Linked DNA regions of Homo sapiens: all the other regions are linked to region 3. Evidence: promoter capture Hi-C in 16 types of primary human blood cells and fetal thymus (Javierre and others, 2016). All regions are on one chromosome and are shown on one strand. The core of a region is centred on a gene start or on the middle of the fragment in contact, and the rest is flanking DNA. Distances in the headings are between cores, read along the strand shown.

Region 1 (2,700 bases), core at 10-2,509, 180 kb before region 3:
TATAAACAAGTTAAACTTATGAGAGAACCACAGGTATCAGTTGAAGAAAATACTTGAGTAAAAACTAAGACAGTTGGTAACCTTGAGAGAAGTGACAATACATACTGAGAGAATCAGAAGCATAGAACATTTATGAACCATATTAATGTCAGTATATTCAGGGTATCAATGGAGAAGATAAAGGAGGAGGAGGACACGAGTGAGGAGATGTGGCAGCTACAACTCATCAACTGCTACGTACCAGGTACTTTCCCACAGATTATCTCTTTCACACCTTATATTTCTAGAAATAAGTAATAAGACTATGAACATTTTACAACAGAAAAGCAACTTGCATAATGTCATTCAGCCAACACCTGGTAAAGCAGGAATAAAAAACCCTACAGGGTCAGCTCATAATCAGCATGATACATACTGCATTCACTAAAGTAATTAGTCATGAACTCCTACTGCTGAATGAAGGCCCAGCTATGTTTCTACATCAAGGATTCAAACTTGTACAGCAAATATTGCTATTCTAGTGACTGCCATTTTTCACTGATTTTTAAACTGTACCTGATTTGGTTGCTGTTTTGTTTATGAGTTTTGCTTAATCCTTCAACTGTAATACGATCTCTCCCTTTGTAAATTGAATCAGACTCTGTTTCATTTCTTAGTCTTTACAACCAAAACTACGTGACTAAAAATTAACAAATACTATACAAAATTTAAAATCCTCTATTTTATCATCCTGATAAATATGAGAACTGATCAAGTAAAATACTTTCATTTCCTTGAACAAGTATGTGACAAAAATGACAAATATTTGCTTTCAGATATGCATTCATAAGTATTTAATATTTTTCTCCAAACAACATAAAATCTAACATATTTGTATTATAAGATTTTTGATGGATGATTTTTCACTACAGTCAATGAATTTAATTTTAAAAATTGATTTTATTTTTAATTGACAGATGACAATTGTATATACTTATGAGGTATAACGTGATGTTTTGATATTTTTATATTATGAAATAAGCAAATTAACATACTTATCACCTCATATACATATCATTTTTTGTAGTGACAGCACTTAAAATCTACTCTTTTAGCCATTTTGAAATATGCAGTACATTATTATTAACTATAGTCACCATGCTGTCGAATCAACCTCTAAAACTTATTTCTCCTGTCTAACTGAAACTCTGTACCCTCTGAACATTATTTCCCCATTCCCCTGGCCCCGACACCCCAGCCCCCGGTCCTTCCATCCTGGGGCCTGGTAGCCATTCTACTTTCTACTTCTATGAGTTTAATTATTTAGATTCCATATATAACTGAGATCATGCAATATTTGTCTTTCTGTGTCTAGGTTATTTCATTGAGCATAATGTCCTCCAGGTTCATCCATGTTGTGACATGTGACAGAATTTCTTTTTTAGGCTGAATAGCATTTCATTATATAAATAAACCACATTTTCTTAATCCATTCATCCACAGATGTACACTTAGGTTTGTTACATATCTTGGCTATCATGAATAATGATGCAATAAGCATAGGAGTACAGATATCTCTTTGACATACTGATTTCAATTGTTTGGCTATATACCCAGAAGTAGGATTGCTGGATCATATGGTAGTTCTGTCTTTAGTTTTTGAGGAACCTCCATACTGTGTTCCATAGAGGCTGTGCTAATTTACACCCCCACCAACAGTGTGCAAGAGTTCCCTTTTCTCCATATGAATTTGAATTTAAATCAAACTATATGTGAAACACTCCAAAACATTTCAGTATTCTTGTAAGGCTTTGCTTGAAGAAAACCTAAAACATAAACAGACATTTTAGCTCTTACAATTTTTCACAAATAAAAATGTGTGATTTTCCTCACAGCTTAGATTTTCCAAAGTGTATACAATGAATAATACATTTTTTCATGACTATATTCTTTAAAATGGTTTAACTAACATCACTTACAGCCACGATATTTTTCACTTATATACAACATTTATTTCCATTCAATGCCTATTGAAGAATTTTGCTCTAATTAGAATATAATCAACCATAATGATTTGCAGCTGGTTGTGAACCTACAGACTTCAATGCATGAATGTCAAGATGTCAACCATCATTACTGAAATACTCAAATTTATGTATATTAAAATATTTATTGGCCATTTTTAAAGTATTTCCTGCATTTGGATCAGCATTAACAGTAAATGAGGCCGGGCGCGGTGGCTCACGCCTGTAATCCCAGCACTTTGGGAAGCCAAGGCAGGCAGATCACGAGGTCAGGAGATTGAGACCATCCTGGCTAACACGGTGAAACCCCGTCTCTACTAAAAATACAAAAAATTATCCAGGCATGGTGGTGGGCGCCTGTAGTCCCAGCTACTAGGGAGGCTGAGGCGGGAGAATGGCATGAACCCAGGAAGCGGAGGTTGCAGTGAGCCAGATCAGGCCACTGCACTCCAGCCTGGGTGGACAGAGTGACACTCTGTCTCAAAAAAAAAAATAAAAAACACCAACAACAACAGTAAATGAAAGAGTCAGTCCCATAACTCTTTAGCAAGTATTCAAAGGATTCAACTAATGAGAAACATTTTTAAACAATTTTATTTTTTTTTATTTTTTATTATTATTATACTTTAAGTTTTAGGGTACATGTGCGCAATGTGCAGGTTAGTTACATATGTATACATGTGCCATGCTGCTGTGC
Region 2 (2,700 bases), core at 52-2,551, 180 kb after region 3:
AACCTCATTACTAATTCAGAAATAATAAATTTAGCAATAATAACATTATTTAAATATAAGGTGGCAACATTTAAAAAGATACGTAGAAAATATCCAGTCATGTCAATATAAGGGAAAATGGGCCTTTTCATGCAATGCTGGCTGGAGTGTAAACTGCTATAGCTGTTAATAGGACAATGTGACGATATTTATCAGTATTAAAAAGGTTAATTTACTTTGAGCCAAACATTTCTTCTGGCAGTATATATATACTCCAGACATACTTGTCCATGTGCACAAAGACAATTCTTCAATTCAAAATGATATCACTTGCATTCTTGAAAAATTTAAAGACTCCTAAATGATCACTGATGCAGGACTTGTTAAATAAATTGTAACATATTCCCACTGAGGAATATTAGACAGCAATTAAAGAATGAGGTAGATTCTCCAACAGGTTTGGTTTACTGAAGACAGAAAGTTACAGCTCACACATTACATATAGAATAATTTCATTTGTTGTGAAAGCTTCAAATTATGAATATGGTTATAAACATAATGCATAATTATGTAAATGCAGAAACAAGGTCAGAAGAATTCAGCGCTTATACTACTTGCCACAGTTACTCTGGTGCCACCTTATGGTAATGATGTAGTTTACCATCCACTCATTTCAAACCAGGTGATTGTTGATGATTTTTAATTTGGAAGTTATTTGTTTTGTGTAATATTTTTCTCATGAAGTGAGACCTATAAATTTTTATATACATTTTGTTTCATAGCCATACAATTGAAATTCACATAAAATGTGAACAAACGGCATGCCTGTATTATTAAAATTTTTTGCAAAGCAAATATATTAATATTGTACTTATGTAATGAGAAATTAATCAGAATTATCTTGATATATTCTCTGCAATATTCTATAAACTATTTTCCTTATTAAGAAAAGTATTAAAATATTACATGTGTGTAATACCTTTTAACAAATATTTCGACTGGCTAACATTCCTTTAACCTCACTTTGCTGCATGTGAATAGATTATCAAATCCCTTTTTTGCTGCTCATTAACATTCCAGAACTTTGCCCATTATTTTCCTGCATTAAAAACATCAATGACTTTTCATTACTTATAGTAATGTGAATATTCTGTATCAAAGCATTTGCTTCATTTATTTTTACATTCTCTGAATTTAGCACAGTGATCAACTCACAGGAGAAGTTTCAATTAATGGGTTTCACTAGGAATGTATCAATTGTGCAGTAGAGTTGGGGGGAACACTAACTTATTTATGTAATTTGATCAGCTCTATAATTTTAATTTTCCCAAATATAAAAAATCACAGTCACCTGTAACCTTGGCCCTGTTCATGAATCAGGGATCAAAGCTGTGCTATAAGGAGAACTTAAGAAACTGTGGAAAAAATTAGATTTATCTGCATTGCTGTTGGCTCTACTCTGAATCTTCAGGATCAAGGATTCTGCCTGCTATTTAATGTCCAGGAGCAGCATTCCATTTTTTGCTTCTTTATGTTCCATTACTTTAGGAATTGGGTCTTGCCTTGCTGTAGTTCTTTGAGTCATTTCAGAGGGTGCTATTTTACCCCATTTTCCAATTTCTTTTTAGGGTCATTCATCTGGAGTAGGGCTACACTTAAGTTTAATTGAAGGTCTGCATCTACTACTACTGTTACAGTAGCCCAAACTTCTTGAGACTGCACACAGCTTGCCTTCTAGGACATCTTTCATGGTGCCTACTGATTATCTGCTCAGGATGCCTCAGCCACTTGTCTGTACCTGCTTCGACTGCTTCTGTTTTAAGTTCCTTTCTGTGCCTCTTTTTGCTATTTTAGGTATGTCTGGACTTTCCAAGTCTCTGCCAAAATAATCACATTTTAAAATATAAAATCATGTCCATGGCACCCAGAACTGGACATATTGTACCAGTTGAGCCCAAGCATAGTAGGTTATGGTAGCAATTGCTAGTTACCCCTGCTGAAATGAACTTACACTTCTGTCAAGATAACACAAGCATTAAGTATTCATTGTCTATTTCTGCATCTGTATCACACTGTCTCATAACAGGTCTCCTGTGCTCTGATGTATTGAAGCTTTCTAAAATCTCATGTCTATTTAATTCATTTAAACATGAATTTACAATTATTATTGATAATAAAATTTATCTTATTAGACATGAGTTACCATCTCTGTCCATAGAAAGCATTCAGTTTTATTCTGTATAGATGTTTCAGCCACCCTCCCCTATCTTTGTTATCATTTCCAAATTTATGTCTCATGCGTTCCTCCAAGTTATCGATAAAAATACGTACTAGAAAAAAAATACCTGATGGATTAGTGACAAGTACAGAGCCTTATAACAGACAACTAAAGATTGAATGGCACTGATTTTCCAACTGAAGCTATTTGTACTTTGTTATACAATGAGTTAGAAATCAACTTTTGGCTGGGTACGGTGGCTCACGCCTGTAATCCTAGCACTTTGGGAGGCTGAGGCGGGCAGATCACCTGAGGTCGGGAGTTTGAGATCAGCCTGGCTAACATGGTGAAACCCCATCTCTACTAAAAATACAAAATTAGCTGGGTGTGGTGGTGTGTGCCTGTAATCCCAGCTACTCCGGAGGCTGAGGCAGGAGAATTACTTGAACCCAGGAGGCGGAGGTTGCAGTGAGCCAGGGTCACGCCACTGCACTCCAGCCTGG
Region 3 (2,700 bases), core at 193-2,692:
GAGAGAGAAAGAGAGCAGTTCAGGATACACTAAAAGGAAACCCCAAGAAATTTCACAACTCTTTGCCATAAATAGCCTTTCTTCTCACTCTGGATACCTCCTCCTTTACATCAGCAAGGCTCAGCCTCCACGCACGCAGAAGCACCATTCACAAATCCCTCCGTCACCCTTACCCCTTGCTGGCACCGTGTGTACGAGTCCCTGGGACACAAGCCAAAAGTCGAAGGGGCCAGGGGGCCACATGCGGTTTCAGCTTACGGCTGACTTTCTGCTCAGGTGAACCAACCCACTGGTTAGTCCAGAGCGCGCGCGCGCGCGCACACACACACACACACACACACGCACACAACCTGGGGCCCTTGACGCTCCACCACAAAGCAAGTGGTTCAATCTAAGTCGCTGCCGTTACTGCTGCCTCTGGGCAGGGTCTTGCTTCCAATCCAGGAAACTGGCGCCAGAGGACAAGCAGGCGGAGGCAAGAGGTGGTCCCGGCCCCGCACTGCGGTTCCTCCGGGAGCCCCTGGCTCCCCGCCCCCTCCTCCCCTTCCCCCTCTTCGCCGCCGTCCCCGCCTCAGCACCCGCAGCCCGGGGCGCCAGCGCTGACCGGTCGCCTCTACCTGCGGGACGCGAGTGGCGAGGAAGGGGAGCGACCCGAAGCCTGCGCCAACTCTCGCCGCCTTGGCCAGCGCTCCGCATCGCCCTGGAGCGGCCGCCGCGGCCGCAGGCAGCAAACCACGCAGCAGCGTGGAGGAAATGGCCACGCGGCGCACTGGGAGTCGCGGGCCGGTGGTGAGCGAGCCCGCCCGCCTCCTTCCCACCCCGCCCGCAAGGCCAGGTCTCTGCGCCGAGCACGCCGGGCCTGGGCGCGCGCTGCTCGCAGGCGGCCCCGACACGGCGCGGTCACCTGCCGAGCGGTCATCCCCGCGTCCGCCTGCGGCCGGCCCCGCAAAGCGGCGACGCGACGCGCGACCCGCTGAGCGCTGAGGCACCAGGGGCGTTACTACCTTGAGGGCTCCGTGCGCTTGTTAAGGCTCCTCCCGGGCACTCAGGGATTTATGTCTTCGGGGCACGGGGGTGTCCTTCCTGGTCCCCCTCCTCTGCCCTCCCTCCCCTTCTCGGCTGTTGGGCTCCTCTCCACTCCCAGTTGCACAGAGTCCAGCTGCGTTATTTAATAATCCTCCTGCTCCTCCTGCCTGCGCCAGCGGAGCTGCTCTGCCCGAGCCACCGCTTCCCAGTCAGTCATGTTGAGACAGAGAGAGAGAGAGAGGAGAGGCGGATTGGCAGTAGGTCGGCGACTATTTGTGGTGAGGGAGAGAAGAGCAGAGCAAGAGGAGGGCAGGGGAGGGACGTGGGGAGGCGCTTCCAAGTGTGTGAGTGCGCGGAGTGTGACTGTGTGGGGAGCGCGAGATCCACCTCCCCGGCAGGCCGCGCTCCGGGGCTGTGAGGAGGGCGGGCCCAAGCGCGGCCTTTATACAAGGAGGAGTGTGGTGGGCTGGGCGGGGCGGCTTGGAGGGCGGTGCCCGGCCCACTGCGTCCGCCGGATTCCACGCACGCATCCTCTGGCATCGACGCGCGCACACCCACTGCTGGCCCGCTGCTGAGTTTTCATTTTAGGGGAAGCAGTATCCCACCGTGCTGACCTGGCCTTTTCCCCCAGTCCATCCTAGTGCTTATGTGGAGTTCAAGTGCATAGGCAGGTCAAGACTAAAGAATAGGGGAAGTCTGAAGAGACGTGAAGTGACTGCGGGGATGCTGGAAATAAATGCACTGTATTTCTCCTCTCCAAGGTTCCGATGTTATCTTTTTTCTCTTCCTCCTGTAAGGGAAGGAATTACCAGATTCTTTCGCCGCTTTTCCTTCTCACCCACACAATTCACATCCTGACAAGTGTCTTCATTCCTCAGTAACAAGAAAAGAAACCTAGCTTCTTTCCTTTAAGCAGGTCACACCTCCCAGGAACCATTTGCAGCAATCAATTCTGTAAGATAATGCAAGCACTGCGACTGTGTCCGAGAGTGGAACTTGTGTTCCTACAAGGAAGGCCCTACACAATACAGGCATTACAAGAGAATCAGCTCAATTTGACATCATTTGACTGATGGTCCCCTGGAGAAAATTTGCCAGTTTAGAAATCGAAAAGACTTTTGATGCATGGTTCTGTTGCCTACATAATTTATTTTCCCCTGATCCTCTCTCCCCTTGCACTGCCTCATTTCCTTTCAGGTTTACACTAAGTACTGAACTCTTTCCCATCCATCCCCTTCTTTATCTCCACTCCAGTATATTTATGCCTTTAGCAGGCAATACAGCAAATGTAGTGCATTTAATTCTGTGTGTGTGTGTGTGTGTGTGTGCGCGCGCGCATCTGTTTTTAACCCATTCTGGTAGAATGTAGGACCATTTCTAGGTAGAAAATGCATCCCCAATATTAAGTTTGTACGCCTAACATCACCTCCCTTACCTTCTGCCCAGATTACAAGATGTTGTGATCAGGTGCACTGAGGTATTGAGAAAAACTTCCAGAAATCAAGTGATCTACAGTTTTTTCAAGGTGTGTTTGTGTGTGCGCGTGCGCGTGCGCACGCTCTGTGTAATCTAACTGGCTATGATCTAACTTCTGAAATGTGGTTATATTGGGAATAAAAGCAAGATGTATTTTTTAAATGAATCTGAGTGGTCAATGTATATTACAGCATGGGG
Region 4 (2,700 bases), core at 186-2,685, 160 kb before region 3:
GAAGAAAGCATCAAGTAAACCTGTTAATACCCCACAGCAACATTCTTACTTTCTCACTTCTGGAATCCAAAGGGAGAGAGGAGGAGAGGAGGAAGGAAAGGGGAGAATGGCTCACCAGAATATTGCCTCTAGGAAACAGGGCACTGCACCTTCCAATATTTATTTAGGAAGCCCTCAAAAGACTCCCTGAGTAATTTATCCCTTGGTTGATACACTAGAGGTTTTTAGAAACTGAACAATGCATCCTAAACAGATTCACAAGTGAATCTGAATTCATAAATTTGCTTGTTTTTTTGTAAAGTGGGAGATTGTGAAAGAAACATGAGGAAGATGACTGACAAAACTCAGAAGCTTCTCAAACAAGTAATTTGTATGGAAAATCACAAATAAAAATTGAGAATTGAGAAATTAGTTATCTAAAAGGTATCCATGCCTATGTAGGGCAGGGGTGTCCTTTACACCCTGATTATTATACTACAGTCTGAATACCACTCTTCTAGCACAAAATACTAAGTGAATTCTCAAATAATTCAAAAACAGGAAACATATTCTCCTCCAGGCACAGAGGATTCAGAAGGGAATTAGAGGGGCTAGTCCCTTTTCTGGAGGAGTATCTACTCCAATGAGGGAGACAGAATATAAACAAAACAAATAAGCATATTAGATGATCTTTAACAGTGATGTATGTCTTACAAAAATAATTACTGTAATGAGATAAATAATGAAGAAGACAAGTATGGAGGTGGTGATATTTGAGCTGAATGAAGAAGAGTGAGAAGAACACTTCCAGCAGAGGCAGAATCAAGTGCAAACTCCCTGGGGCAGGCCTGATCATTCCAAGTAGCAGTGTGAGTAAAGGGAATAACTATTTGAGATGAAGTGTCAGGAACTTAGAGGTCCAGATCCTTGTAGGGAGCTAAATTAAGAGAGATAGCCTCTTTGTACAGGATTGATTGCCAAAACTAGCCACCCAGTTAGGATTCTATTGCAATAATCCAAAGGAGAGATAACGACATTCTCGCTTAAATAGCATGGTACAGATAAACAAGATAACAAACTTGGTAATCTTGTGGGTAACACTAGTAATAATTGTTTATTGATAGAGGGATGAGAGAAAGAAAAGAATAAAAAAATGCCCAGGGTTTTTTTTGTTGTTGTTCAGTTGGTTTTTGTTTGTTTAAAGTTGTTGGTTTGTTGTTTTGCTATTTGTTTTAACTGGGAGAAGAAATACTACTCAAAATCACAATCACAATGGAAAAGTCAGGATGGAATAGAAAAATGAAACATAAATACATAAAGTTTCAAATTAGATTAAATATTTACTTGTAAGTAATTTCTTTTTCATATTTAAAGCAAAATGTTCCTAAAATAGACTCTTTAAAAATAAATTCATTTCTAATATCAAAGTTGGAAATTTTGGGGGACATGAAGAATATAAAAAATGGAAAACGTCTAATCTCATGAATCTACTATGTTAGTTTATTTTTAAATGCAGGAATCCTTTACATGGCATTATGTTGAATGAAACATGTTCTTATCAGAACTATGTCCTCATCTTGAATGGCTTTGTGAAAACTCTGATGAGACTCATGTAACATGGAAATAATGCAGAACAGTGAGGAGTCACCGAGATAAAGTGCCTATGCAATGTTGTATCCTGCTAAAGAATTTCATACATATTATCAACTCTTCATGAAAGTTTTAACAGATAGGATTTCTTAAAAGGAGTTACCACAAATTACTTAAGGTTTCTCCTATTATAAAACATGTAGGTAGTTTCAATCATTGGCTATTTAAAATAGCAATATTTACTATATCACTATAAAGTAACTTATACATTTTACTTCTAAATAATAATTTTATAGCATTAAATGCTTCTGATTTTGGCTGACCCTATTTTGTAGGGTTTTTTTTTAATTATTAATGTAAGAACCCAAGGTGATGCTTTTTTGAATTTCAGATCAATGATTCTATTGCTTCTTTTAGGAGCAGTAGCAAAGTCCTATGTGTAAATCGCTTCTTGGAAAAAAGTAAAGCAGTCATAAAACCTAAAAACTCATTCATACCACCAGGGTACCATTTAGTAAATTACCACCACAACACACTCTGGCTGCAGCAACCTGAGGCAAATGTGTCTAATCACACTACATTATTTTTCTTCAAAATGTCTCTCTCCATTCTGCAATGATTAATTCACTTGAGGCCATGCAGACAGAGAAAGAACACCTCTTTGTAGCAGTTTAAGAAATCAAGTCATGAAGACAGGCCACAGGGTGAAGTTTCCAAAGAACAGTGATATTTCCAAAGAATGTAAAATCTGTTTATAAGTTAATGACTTAACAAACTTTATTAAAATTCTACTACTACATGGGAGATCTGCATTAGGCATAAAGGAAAATGCAAAATAAATATAGAATGTTAAGTGTATGAATTTTTCTAAGCCAACACTAGCCCTGTCCAAGACTGAGAAAATGTATCTGTTACAAATGTTCAGTAAAATTAAATTATTTAAAGCTTCAAAATTTCACTTTGCATAAGAAATCACATTTTAAGTTGTGAGTCAAGTCATTTTTTTATTTATGTTATATTAACCTTTATGAAAAATAATTTTTATAAAAAAGCATCCCCATCAATAAACTGTGTAAGTGGCACAAACTATCCAAATAATTCTATAAAATTTTTAATGAACTAAACTGTTCT

Evidence for each region. The method cuts DNA at HindIII sites, captures the fragments that hold promoters and counts their contacts. A CHiCAGO score of 5 or more calls a contact.
Region 1: a contact is called between a fragment that was not itself captured here and the fragment with the promoter of CCSER1 in region 3, in 3 of 17 cell types (M2 macrophages, naive B cells and total B cells). The highest score is 8.1, in M2 macrophages.
Region 2: a contact is called between a fragment that was not itself captured here and the fragment with the promoter of CCSER1 in region 3, in 4 of 17 cell types (megakaryocytes, total B cells, M2 macrophages and 1 more). The highest score is 6.3, in megakaryocytes.
Region 4: a contact is called between a fragment that was not itself captured here and the fragment with the promoter of CCSER1 in region 3, in 6 of 17 cell types (M2 macrophages, total B cells, naive B cells and 3 more). The highest score is 15.3, in M2 macrophages.

Annotation. Positions count from the first base shown.
Region 1 is chr4:90,304,720-90,307,419 of GRCh38, reverse strand. All of the region lies in intron 1 of CCSER1 (coiled-coil serine rich protein 1), which reads right to left. Among named protein-coding and RNA genes, the nearest start is that of CCSER1, 180 kb to the right of the region's middle. The HindIII fragment of the contact is 7,841 bases long and covers 1-2,700 here.
Region 2 is chr4:89,947,894-89,950,593 of GRCh38, reverse strand. All of the region lies in intron 6 of MMRN1 (multimerin 1), which reads right to left. Among named protein-coding and RNA genes, the nearest start is that of MMRN1, 54 kb to the right of the region's middle. The HindIII fragment of the contact is 1,584 bases long and covers 510-2,093 here.
Region 3 is chr4:90,126,136-90,128,835 of GRCh38, reverse strand. CCSER1 (coiled-coil serine rich protein 1) reads right to left here and starts at 1,442. Exons shown (of 11, transcript NM_001145065.2): 1 at 1,005-1,442. RefSeq lists silencers at 325-574, 685-884. The HindIII fragment of the contact is 6,776 bases long and covers 1-2,700 here.
Region 4 is chr4:90,286,418-90,289,117 of GRCh38, reverse strand. All of the region lies in intron 1 of CCSER1 (coiled-coil serine rich protein 1), which reads right to left. Among named protein-coding and RNA genes, the nearest start is that of CCSER1, 160 kb to the right of the region's middle. The HindIII fragment of the contact is 2,163 bases long and covers 354-2,516 here.